2 separate regions of the Homo sapiens genome follow, and region 1 is linked to region 2. The links are contacts of gene promoters, found by promoter capture Hi-C in blood cells and fetal thymus (Javierre and others, 2016). All regions are on one chromosome and are shown on one strand. The core of a region is centred on a gene start or on the middle of the fragment in contact, and the rest is flanking DNA. Distances in the headings are between cores, read along the strand shown. Region 1 overlaps TRMU (tRNA mitochondrial 2-thiouridylase). Region 2 holds the start of CERK (ceramide kinase).

Region 1 (5,008 bases), core at 89-2,588, 400 kb before region 2:
GGTGAGGGGAGCTGGGATCGCCGGGCCGGGGGCCTGACCTCTGCACACGCTGTGGCCGCCCGGTGGGAGGTCCTTGTCCTCCCCACTCAGCAGACTGGACAACTGCCGCGCGGCGGGTCTGCTTGTTCAGCGTCTCCTGTGTTCTCCGCTCGCTGGAGGACAAAGTTTTCTCCAGGAGCATTTGCATTTCTTCCGGCATCTAAACGGAGCCCCACGGGTGCTTAGCATTCCTCGGGCCCGGCGCTGAAATGAGCACTTGTTTAACTTCACCTGTGTGGCTCCCCGCGGGAGGCCTCATTCACAGAGTCACGTTTGTGGAGCTCTGCTTTGCGCCATCTTTGGCTCCTGACCTTGGGCAAGTGAATTAAGCCGTCCCCTGTAAAATTCGGCTAACACCTGCCTCACGGGGTGACTGGAGGGATTAGATGACATAGTACATACTGATGAGTACGTGCTCAGCACATACGAGGTACGCAGAAAACAGTAGTGGCTATTAGTTTATATTGTTAATAACCATAGCTATTATGGTAGGTACAGTAAGTGCCAAAGAGAAGGGTAGGCGGACCATAAGCAGAAATAGTTGTGAGGAAGGGAGAGTGGAGGAAAGCATCCTAGAGATGGAGGTGCTCAGCTGAGTCGAAAGAAGAGTAGGATGTCACTAAGCAGAGACTTGGAGGTGGAGGCGGCCCTCCCGGCACAGTCAGCAGTGCAAGCAGAATCACAGAGGCCTGCAAGTGTGGGCTGGTTCTGGCCAGATGGAGATGGAAGGAGAGGAGCCTGGAGCACGTTTAGCCCTGATTATGGAAGATGCTATACCAGGGGCTTTAGACTGTTAGGTAGACATTAGTCTGGTTGATCTGGGATAGGGGTGGTCTTTCGCGTGTGGTGGTGTAGTTTTGACAAAGCTTTGTCATCAAATTTCTGTTGTTTTGGGTACTATATGAAGCCTTCTTCAGCAGTCATTTGCCCTGTCTTTCATTACATTCAGCCTACCTAAACGAACCAGCTTTCTCATACAGGGTCTGCACCTGTGTAGTTTGCTAAGGTGGTGTAGGGCTAAAGTTGGCCTTTCCAATATTTGGGTGAATATTTTGTTACAATCGAAAAGGTAGAAAATAGGTCATAAACTAGGTGGTACAGCTCTTACAAAATATCGAAAATTTTAATTATCTTTATATCTGATCACTTAGAATCTAAGTCTTAGATAGTAACTAGAAATAACTTTTGAAAAGAGTTTCCTTTTTTGATAACTGAATGGTGCTTTGAAAAATTTTGTTGAGTTTCGACTATTCCTTCGTGTATTCCACACACACTGGCTGATCCCCTCCTGCTAGGTATTGTGCTGATACATAGATGGGGACACAAAGATGAGAAAATACCACCTCGTTAATCTTGGGGACTCAGGCACCAAGATGGAAACCGGATCCCTGAAGCCACATGGCAAAGCAGGGACTGCCCGGCAGGCCAGGCACAGAGGCACAGGAGCACAGCGTGTGGGGAACTTCTCAGAGCTCAGAAATCACTGCCGTTTTACCGAAGGTTGATTTATGTATTCTCTTTAATTGACCTTCCCGCCCGCAGGTTACCAGGTGACAGGGGTGTTTATGAAGAACTGGGACTCACTGGATGAACATGGGGTCTGTACTGCCGACAAAGACTGTGAAGATGCTTACAGAGTTTGCCAGATCTTAGACATCCCTTTCCATCAAGTGTCCTACGTAAAGGAGTATTGGAATGATGTGTTCAGGTGAGTGCGGGTCACAGCACAAAGGAAGCTTCCTCACACTGTGGATCCTTGCAGTGGAAGGATCCGGTAACCAGCCAGACCGACGCCTGTGCTGCAGCCCAGCGCTCTCCCTCCACGGTGGTGCTGAAGACTGCAAGAGGCCTCAGCCACCCTCGGGGCTCTGTGTTAGAGGCGAGGCCTGGACCCCACAGCACACCCAGCTCTCTCACTCCTGTCATTTTGCCACTTGCCTGAAGTCTCTTTAATGCTTTCTTGGACCTTGAGCTGTTTCTGTTGCCCAGTTAGGATAGGGGAGCTAAGGCTGAGGGCTCCCCTGGAAGGTGAGCACCAATGCCTGTGTGCTATGTGGGTCAGCGATTAGGGGATTTCTGAGAAAGAGGTGATACATGGCCTGTGCCTCTGAAAACAAGAAACAAACAAAAACTTTTCTAAAATCCAATATAATCTCAATAATTAAGTGCTGTGTGCTAGGCGTGTGCCACATCTAGGAACATTAAGATGTCTTCACTGTGACCTGGCTCTGTAGGAGTTTGCGGTCTAGTTGGGAGGACATTATCTTCACAAGAGGTGACAGTGATGCGTGGCACGCAGGAAGTACCAGTGATGCTATCAGTCACTGAACCCAGAGGAGGGAGAAACTTGCAGTGTGGAGTAATCAAGAAGGCTTCACCGGAGAGGAGGGGTTGCAAACAAAGTTGTAGAGAAGGGACTCCAAATGGGGTAACGAGAGCAGCGTGAAGGGGAGAAGAAATGCTGATTGTGTATTTCAGGACCGTTGTAAAGTTTGGCTGGACTTTTGTTCCTGCAGTGGAAGGAGTGTAGGGCTCATCCTCTGGTGAGCCCTGACTGTGATGAATGTCGGGCAGTTGTCGAAGGCGTCTGACACAGCAGGCCATGTGCGCGGGACAGGCTGCCCCTGCCTGAGTGGGCTTTAGGGGCAGAAGAGCCTTGGGTTGAGTCCTGACTGTAGCTTATTATATGACCTTGGGCAATTTACTTGACTTTGTTTTTTTAATTGAAAAAAATTCTCTTTTTTTCCTGCCAACAAAGACCCAGAAGAGATACTTGACTTTTCTAAGCCCCAATTTTCTCATCTTTAAAATGAGGATAACACTGATGCCTCACAGGGTTATGAAAGAATTGAGATTAGGTTCTAGTATGTATGCCTGGTATATTAGTAAGCAGTCAATAAACATAGCTGTTTTTCTTTTCTATTTTTTTTTGAGACAGAGCCTCGCTCTGTTGCCCAGGCTGGAGTGCAGTGGCGCAATCTTGGCTCACTGCAACATCTGCCTCCCAGGTTCAAGCGATTCTCATGCCTCAGCCTCCCAAGTAGCTGGGATTATAGGCATGCACCACCACGCCCGGATAATTTTTGTATTTTTAGTAGAGACAGGGTTTCGCCATGTTGGCCGGGCTAGTCTCAGACTCCTGACCTCAGAAGATCCACTCGTCTCAGCCTCCCAAAGTGCTGGGATTACAGGCGTGAGCCACCACGCCAGCCTGCTATTTTTATTTTCATTATTAAAAAGATGAGTCTGGGGAGCTAAGCTATGAGGACGCAAAGGCATAAAAATGATATAATGGACTCTGGGGTGAGGGATAAAAGACTACACATCGGGTACAATGTCCACTGCTTGGGTGACGGGTACACCAAAATCTCAGAAGTCACCACTGAAGAACTTATCCATGTGACCAAATACCAGCTGTTGCCCAAAAAACCATTGAAATAACAATAAAACGAAATTTAGAGAGATTAAGTAAATTGACTATGGTCACCTAAATAATCAACGGAAGAGCTTGAATATGAACCCTCTGTGACTCTATGCTATAACATATGGGTGTCGTATATATTAACAACATGGACAAAACTGATGGCTGAATTTTCCTGGGGAAAGTTACCTGTAGAATGCATGATAAATGCATTAAAAACTTATCTGTAGAATGCATGATAAATGCATTAAAAACTTCTGCAGTTTTCTCGGGGACATAAGAAAAAAAAAAGAGTGTGGCGGCCAAATACAGGATAAATCTGGGGGAAGACCAAAGGCAGAGAGTCTCAGGAAGTGCTGTTGCTGGAGATTTGGACTTCATGGGGAGGGAGTGTGGGAGTGGAAGGTGAGGGCTGGCTTGTTGGACCCAGAGGACAAGTCCACCGGGCAGTAGATCTGAGGTGCTTGTTAAACACAGACCTGGACCGAGGTCTGGGGGCGGCCCTGGAATCTGCTTTAATAAGCACTTCAGCTGTGCTGGTGGTGTGGGGGGTTGTCAGGGTCTTTCTTTGAGAAAAGGTGTGATGCGGCTTAGGGACTGATGTGTGTGGGAGACCAGAGAGGAGAGGAGTCAGCAGTAGTTTCAAGATCAAGGCTGGGTGGCTGGGGAAAGCTGGTTTAGGGGATTCCTCATGAGTACTGTAGAGTTTGAGGGGACAACAGGGAATCCAAGTGAGCTTACACTTCACCTGCCAGCACAGCTTTTTCAGAACGTACGAGTGGATGCGATTTTTGAAGTTTAGCTCAGCTGAGGCCAGATAGGAAGAGTGACTTGAATAGTATGGCAAATTAGGAGCGGAGCTGGGATTAAACCCCAGAATTAGGAGCGGAGCTGGGATTAAAACCCAGAATTAGGAGCGGAGCTGGGATTAAACCCCAGAATTAGGAGCGGAGCTGGGATTAAACCCCAGAATTAGGAGCGGAGCTGGGATTAAACCCCAGAATTAGGAGCGGAGCTGGGATTAAACCCCAGAATTAGGAGCGGAGCTGGGATTAAACCCCAGAATTAGGAGCGGAGCTGGGATTAAACCCCAGAATTAGGAGCGGAGCTGGGATTAAAACCCAGCTTTCCAGGCCAGTGCTTGCTGCCGCCTTCTGGCGCTGCTTGATAGGGACTGAGAGAAGGAGGCGGCCGGGTAGAGTCTTTTCCCATCTCTGGGGCTGCCCCCGAGGTCGCCCCTGGCTCCAGCCAGCCTGCCCTCTGCCCTCGCCCAGTACCAGCTGCCCGTGGAGGCATTGGTCTTTCCGCTGAAGACTCACTTCTCTAGTAGGGCTCTCTAGCTCAGAGATTTCTTTTGCATTCTTTCATTCAAGACCCACTGGCCTTCAAGGATCAGAGTCCAGATACGTTTTAGCTGCTGAGTCTTTTAAATCTGTCTCCCTCCCGAGGCACATGAAAGGCTTCTCTTCTTTCCAGTTAGAGAAGAGGCTGGGCTACTCCATTGTTTTTGCTAATGCCAAAACACACGCCTTCCCATCTGCTGTTTAC
Region 2 (5,623 bases), core at 1,640-4,139:
TTGTACAGTCAGTCACTGTCCCAGCATGATGACCCACTGACGAAAGTGCACGTGCCTGGGTTCAAAGCCAGCTCCCTCTGTACATCACTGCCTCTGGGCCCAGTCAATTCCCACTCCTACTGTCCACATCTGAAATAGGGGTGATGCTACGGAGAAAACAAAGGAGTCGGAATAACTAAGCGGCCACCCCAGCAGGGCACACACAGTGGCCTTGGCTTTGTCTTTAGCCCATTGGTCACCTGGAGCTCCAGGGCTGCTCCTGCCTCATCTCACAGGTCCTCCTAGGGCCAGTTTTTGCACAATTCTCCACCTCTCATCATTCCTCAACCTAATCAATCCCAGTGTGCCCAGATACACCTGGGGGAATGGGGAGGGCTGGGCAATGCCACCTTGCTGACCAAATTAAATGTCCTGTGAGCTGGTTCACATTCTTCTGCCCTACTATGGCCCTACTGACCTCAAGCATAGAAGAATCGAACCTGGGCCTGATTCCTTTTGGGGACTGTAAAGCTATGAGAAAAAAACTAGAGACAGTGTGGCTGTATTCCTGAACTCATTCACAACTTAGCGTTTCCCAACTTGTTGATGTTTTCCCATTGCATGGGAGAGCACTCCTGGGTGGAGAGGGCAGGCTGCTTCCTGGAGGAAGCCCACCAGCCAGGGCCACCAGCCAGGGCCCCACCATCCATGGCCCCACAAACCAGGGCCCTCCCTCTCCAAGAGGGACCAAGCTCCTGGCAGGCCAGTCAGGCAGCTCAGGATGAACCCGCACAAAAGCACCTTGGCTTAGCAAGAGTGAAGCAATTAGCATGCCAAGAGGCAAACCCCAGCAGGCTGGACAAAAGCAGACGCCACACCACACCAAGCCCTGACCTGGGGGACCAGAAACCATAATGGGAGCTGGCTGGGGACGCCAAGGCAGAAAGCAGTGATGACTGACCTCCCACACAGATGCCCTGTAAGGGTCTGGCGTCTCTGCGGCGGCTGGAGCCTGAGGGAAGCCTTACAGCCCAGTGGCTACAAGCACAGCAGCTAATTGGGCCAGTCACTTCCAGCCCCTGCAGATCGGCCCCTGCATCCCTAGGACGGGAGCAGCTGCCTCTCAGGAACCCATCCGGTTTGAAGCCCAGTGGCCCGCACTTAGGAAGTGCTTGGGGGAGGCAGTCATCTTCCTGAAGCCTAGGGATTTACAACAAAGTACAAACCCTTCGGGCCCAGGTCAGGCACCTGTTCTCCTTGTGTGTGGGCCCTGGTGGGTGATATTTGGGGTGTGACATTTCTACCAAAGGGGACATGAGAAATACCTTAGGAAAGTCAAGTCTCAGATGCCCAGCCACAGATAGGTGACCCCAGGGCTGGAAACCAAGTGTTGGTCATGGGTCTGAGACCACCCCTCGACCTTGGCCCCACCTAACGTTCAACTCTGTCCCCACCAGAACCCAACCCACAGATCCTCACCACTCAGCACCAGAAAGCGCCCAGAAGAACTCCTGACCTCGACTGCCCACAGGGTCTAAAGGTGTCATCCCAGGCTCCGAATATCCACCAGAGAATCTTGGCCTCCGCCACACCCACCCCATTCCAGCTCCGCACATCCAGCATGAATCCTGGCCTCTGCCACACCCACCCCAATAATTAAAAAGAAAAAAGGCTGGGTGCGGTTGCTCACACCTGTAATCCCAGCACTTTGAGAGGCTGAGGTGGGCAGATCACCTGAGGTCAGGAATTCAAGACCAGCCTGGCCAACATGGTGAAACCCTGTCTCTACTAAAATACAAAAATTAGCCGGGCGTAGTAGCGGGCTCCTGTAATCCCAGCTACTCCGAGGCTGAGGCAGGGAGAATTGCTTGAACCCAGGAGGCGGAGGTGCAGTGAGCCAAGATCGTGGCATTGAACTCCAGCCTGGGCAACAGAGCAACACTCCGACTCAAAAAAAAAAAAAAACAAAAAACAAACAAAAAACAACAAAAAACAAAAACAAACCCTCTGTCCTCCTGCAGGGCTCTCTCCAGGGTGGGCTATGCGTCCTCCATGTTTACCAAAGTCACTCTTCTCCTCATCCGGAGGGCCTCTGCGGGGCAAGTAGCCAACCCGTGGCACGGAAACCAATTCCCCCATCCCGAGCAGGGAGCACACCCCACAGAAAGTCAGGGGCCCCTTCTTTAACTTCTTAACAGGAAGTCCTCACCCTGCAAGGGCGCCTCTCAGGTTTCGGATCCCTGCTAAAGAAAAGCATCTGTTCTTGGAGTAAACTGCAATGCGCGCGGTGGGGAGCGCCTGGCACCCCCCCTCGGGATCCATCCACAGTCCGTCTTGTCCAGAGGTGCCCTGCGGACAGACCGCACCGGGGGCCACGACCCCGCGCCCCGGGTCCCACCTCCCCGCGGGGATGGGGCGCCGGCCTCCCCTCCACTGCGCGGCGCTTTGTCCTCGGGTTCCCGGAGCAGACGGCGGCGCACAGCCCGGCCCCTGGCCCCGGCCTCCCTCCCGCCTGCCCCGACCCCTCCCTGGCGCCTGCGCTCCCAGGGCCCCCGGCCTTACCACAGCCGCTCGCTCCCTGCACCCGGTCCCCCCAGCCGGGTCCCCCAAGCCGCCCCCGCTCCCTGGCCAGGTCCGGCCGAACCCGGGCGGCGGCGACACTCACCCGCGCCGGGGGCGCCGGCTCCGGGCCCCGGGCTCCGCCACCAGCGCAGCAGAGCCCGCGCGGGCTCCAGGCTCACGGCGCAGCGCTGCTGCTTCACCCACAGCACGGATTGCAGCGGCTCCGCCGCCCCCGTCGCCCCCATCTCCGCCGCCGGGCTCGTCCGCCAGGCTGGGGGCGCGCGGACGCCGAGGGGCGCCGGACCGTTAGCGGCCCCTGCAGTGGCCCGGGCGGCGGGCGGCGGGCGGCGGGAGGCGGCGCTGCGTCACCCCGTACGCGGGCGGCGGGGACCGCGGAGGGGACGGGCGGGGCGGGGGCGAGGAGGAGGCGTGGGTAGAGGAGGGGCCGGGAGCCAGGGAGAGACGGGGGGACCCGAGAAGGGGAGAAGAGGGAGGAGGAAGGGGCCGGGATGGGGCTGGCCGAGGCCAGGGCGCTGGGGCCGGGAGGCGGCTGCCTTTCTCTCCTCTCTTCTCCGGCGGGTGCCGGGTGCTGAATCTGGCGCTCCCGCGGCCGGCCGGGACTCAGTGGCGCCTTCCGCGCGGGCCTCGGTTCAGGCGGGGTCCGGGCGGCGTGGAAACGCAGTCCTGGCGATCGGGCGCGGCGGGGGGCGGGCCTGGATGGGGGCGCCACGGGCGACGTGACCTTGGGCGGCGGGTGCCCTCTACGATCCTGGCGTCCTGTCGGCCTGGGAGGGGGCCTGCAGCTGGGCCCCGACAGGCAGGTAAGGCTTTCAGGAGGCGGAGGTCTTTTTAGGGGGCGGGGGCGCTGGCCCTTTGAACTGCTCTGGGGCCTGAAGCCACAGAGCAGACAGCTGAGCAGCCGCCCCCGAGCTGGCCCTAGGAACCGGAGCCTGGGCCCCAGACTTGGAGAGACACGGCCCCTGTGGCCCCAATTCACCGCCTCCCCAGGAAGGCCTCCTTGACCCCACAGCTGAAGGAATCACCAGCCTGCAGGGACTCCAGCCCTGCCTTCAGAGCACGCCGTGCGCCTTCATGCAAGCTCCAGTCTCTGCGTCCGCAGTGCTTAACACAGCCCCATAGGAAGCAGCCACAACCTGGTTCGGAGGGCACATCCCTCCCTGATTTATCAGTGAAGACTGTGCTCACAGAGGTTAAGTCACTTGCCCAAGAGCACAGGGCTCCAGTGTGGCAGAGCCTAGGCTCACACTGACACTGCCTGGATGTGACACTGAGGTCTGAGGCCTGCCCCTCCCCTCGGCTCCCCTACCCAGCCCTGCTGCTGCAGGCAGAGGTGAGGTGGGCTAGGTCCACGTGGCCTTGCTGCTGTGCCTGGCACCAGGTGGCAGCATATACAGGTCTTACCCTGCCAGCTCCTTGTGACTGTCTTGTCTATAGGGCGGGAACCAGCCATGAATCATTCCTCCCTGGGAGCCCAGCCCCTGTTCAGGCCATGCAGTGAAGGCCCCAGGACAGTCCTGCAGCCACCGTGGGCCCAGTCAGAGTCCTAGCAGGCAGTACCTGATCGTGGCACACAGTGGGGTGTGCAGCAGCGAGGCCTGCCCAGCCTCCTCCCTCCCTCAGCTGCCGCTCTGAGGCCTGGGAAATGTGGATCTGAAACTTACTTGGAAAGAAAAGCTCATGCCAGTGGCAGGAGGGTGCCGCTGCATGCGAAGAGGGTTGGCAGGCAAGGGTGGCATGGGCAGGGGCCCGAGAGCACCAGCGTCCCTACTGGGGACCCCTTCCCTGGGCCTCCCTGTGCTTAGGCTCCCCGTGCCCCTCCCGGCGTATTCACGTTGCTGTCCCCCGGCTGCACGCCTTGGCTTAAAATCCTGCAGCCAGAGGTGGGGGCCCAGAGACGACTCAGAAGTGCTTAGGCCCCGAAGGAGCTCCGTTGGGGGAGACAGCAACATCAGTTACAAAACACACAGGAGATTCAATGAGGCTGTTAGGGTGGGCCCTCATCCAGCGCGTCCTTACAAGAAGAGGAAATGTTGACCGGGCTCTGTGGCTCACACCTGTAATCCCAGCACTTTGGGAGGCTGAAGCGGGTGGATCACCTGAAGTCAGGCATTGGAGACCATCCTGGTCAACATGGTGAAACCCTGTCTCTACTAAAAATACAAAAATTAGCTGGGTGCAGTGGTGCGCTCCTGAATCCCAGCTACTCCGGAAGCTGAGGCAGGAGAATTGCTTGAACCCAGGTGAGCTGAGATTGCGCCATTGCACTCCAGCCTGGGTGACGAGAGCGAAACTCCATCTCAAAAAAAAAAGAAGAGGAAACGTGAACACACACAGACCCCCGAGGCGTGTGTACACAGGGGTGGCCATGGGAAGGGGCAACAAAAGAGAGTGACCTCCAGGAGGCCAACCCTGTGGGCTTGAACCTTGACCTCAGACTTCCAGCCTCTGCCAACTGTTCATGGGAGACGACAGATTGCTGTTGTTGAAGCCATCCAGTCCGTGATATTTTGTTATGGCAGCCTGAGCAGACCCAGGGGACCTGTAGTCCTAGGATGGGCTGGGGAGGGGCCTGGCCACTGCAGGGCCCCATGCTCATGCTCAGGGAGACAGGGTGATGTCACGAAGCCCAGGTTTCCAGAAGATGCACATCCTGCAGTTGAGTTGCATGGGAGAGGGGTTGGGTGGGGGTCAGGCCCTGTGTGGGGCCAGGGCCATGACTCTGGGCACAGCACTGGAGGGATGGGAGGAAAGAGCAGCTCCACCCCAGAGCAGCCGTCAGGTCCCTGCTGTGTGTCAGACCCAGGGGGCCCTTCAGGAGCTGGCTGCGAAGGACACAGGAGCTTTGAAAATGTAGACGAGGCCAGCCCTGGCTGCCTGAGGACCTCCCGGTACCTCACCCACCTCTTCCCTGGCAGGCACCTTTCCCACCTTAGACCCTGCCCAAAATGCCCTTCCCACACGTCTGCCTGGGAGGCCCCCACTCACCTTCTCCTTCAAACCACATCTTGTTTCTTCTGCCACAGAGTCCCCTGATAGCTCACTGCATGGCACTTCCACCCCC

What was found. The method cuts DNA at HindIII sites, captures the fragments that hold promoters and counts their contacts. A CHiCAGO score of 5 or more calls a contact.
Region 1: a fragment that was not itself captured here is called in contact with the fragment with the promoter of CERK in region 2 in 2 of 17 cell types (M0 macrophages and endothelial precursors); the score reaches 5.9 in M0 macrophages.

Annotation. Positions count from the first base shown.
Region 1 is chr22:46,336,198-46,341,205 of GRCh38, forward strand. It overlaps TRMU (tRNA mitochondrial 2-thiouridylase), which reads left to right. Exons shown (of 11, transcript NM_018006.5): 2 at 1,582-1,747. Among named protein-coding and RNA genes, the nearest start is that of TRMU, 3.0 kb to the left of the region's middle. RefSeq lists an enhancer at 1-106. The HindIII fragment of the contact is 870 bases long and covers 904-1,773 here.
Region 2 is chr22:46,735,363-46,740,985 of GRCh38, forward strand. It overlaps CERK (ceramide kinase), which reads right to left and starts at 2,890. Exons shown (of 13, transcript NM_022766.6): 1 at 2,645-2,890. The coding sequence starts at 2,786. It overlaps LOC105373077 (a long non-coding RNA gene), which reads right to left and starts at 1,030. Exons shown (of 2, transcript XR_001755593.2): 1 at 941-1,030; 2 at 1-146. RefSeq lists enhancers at 702-1,275, 1,963-2,132, 3,371-4,029, 3,403-3,732 and a silencer at 2,283-3,242. The HindIII fragment of the contact is 34,881 bases long and covers 1-5,623 here.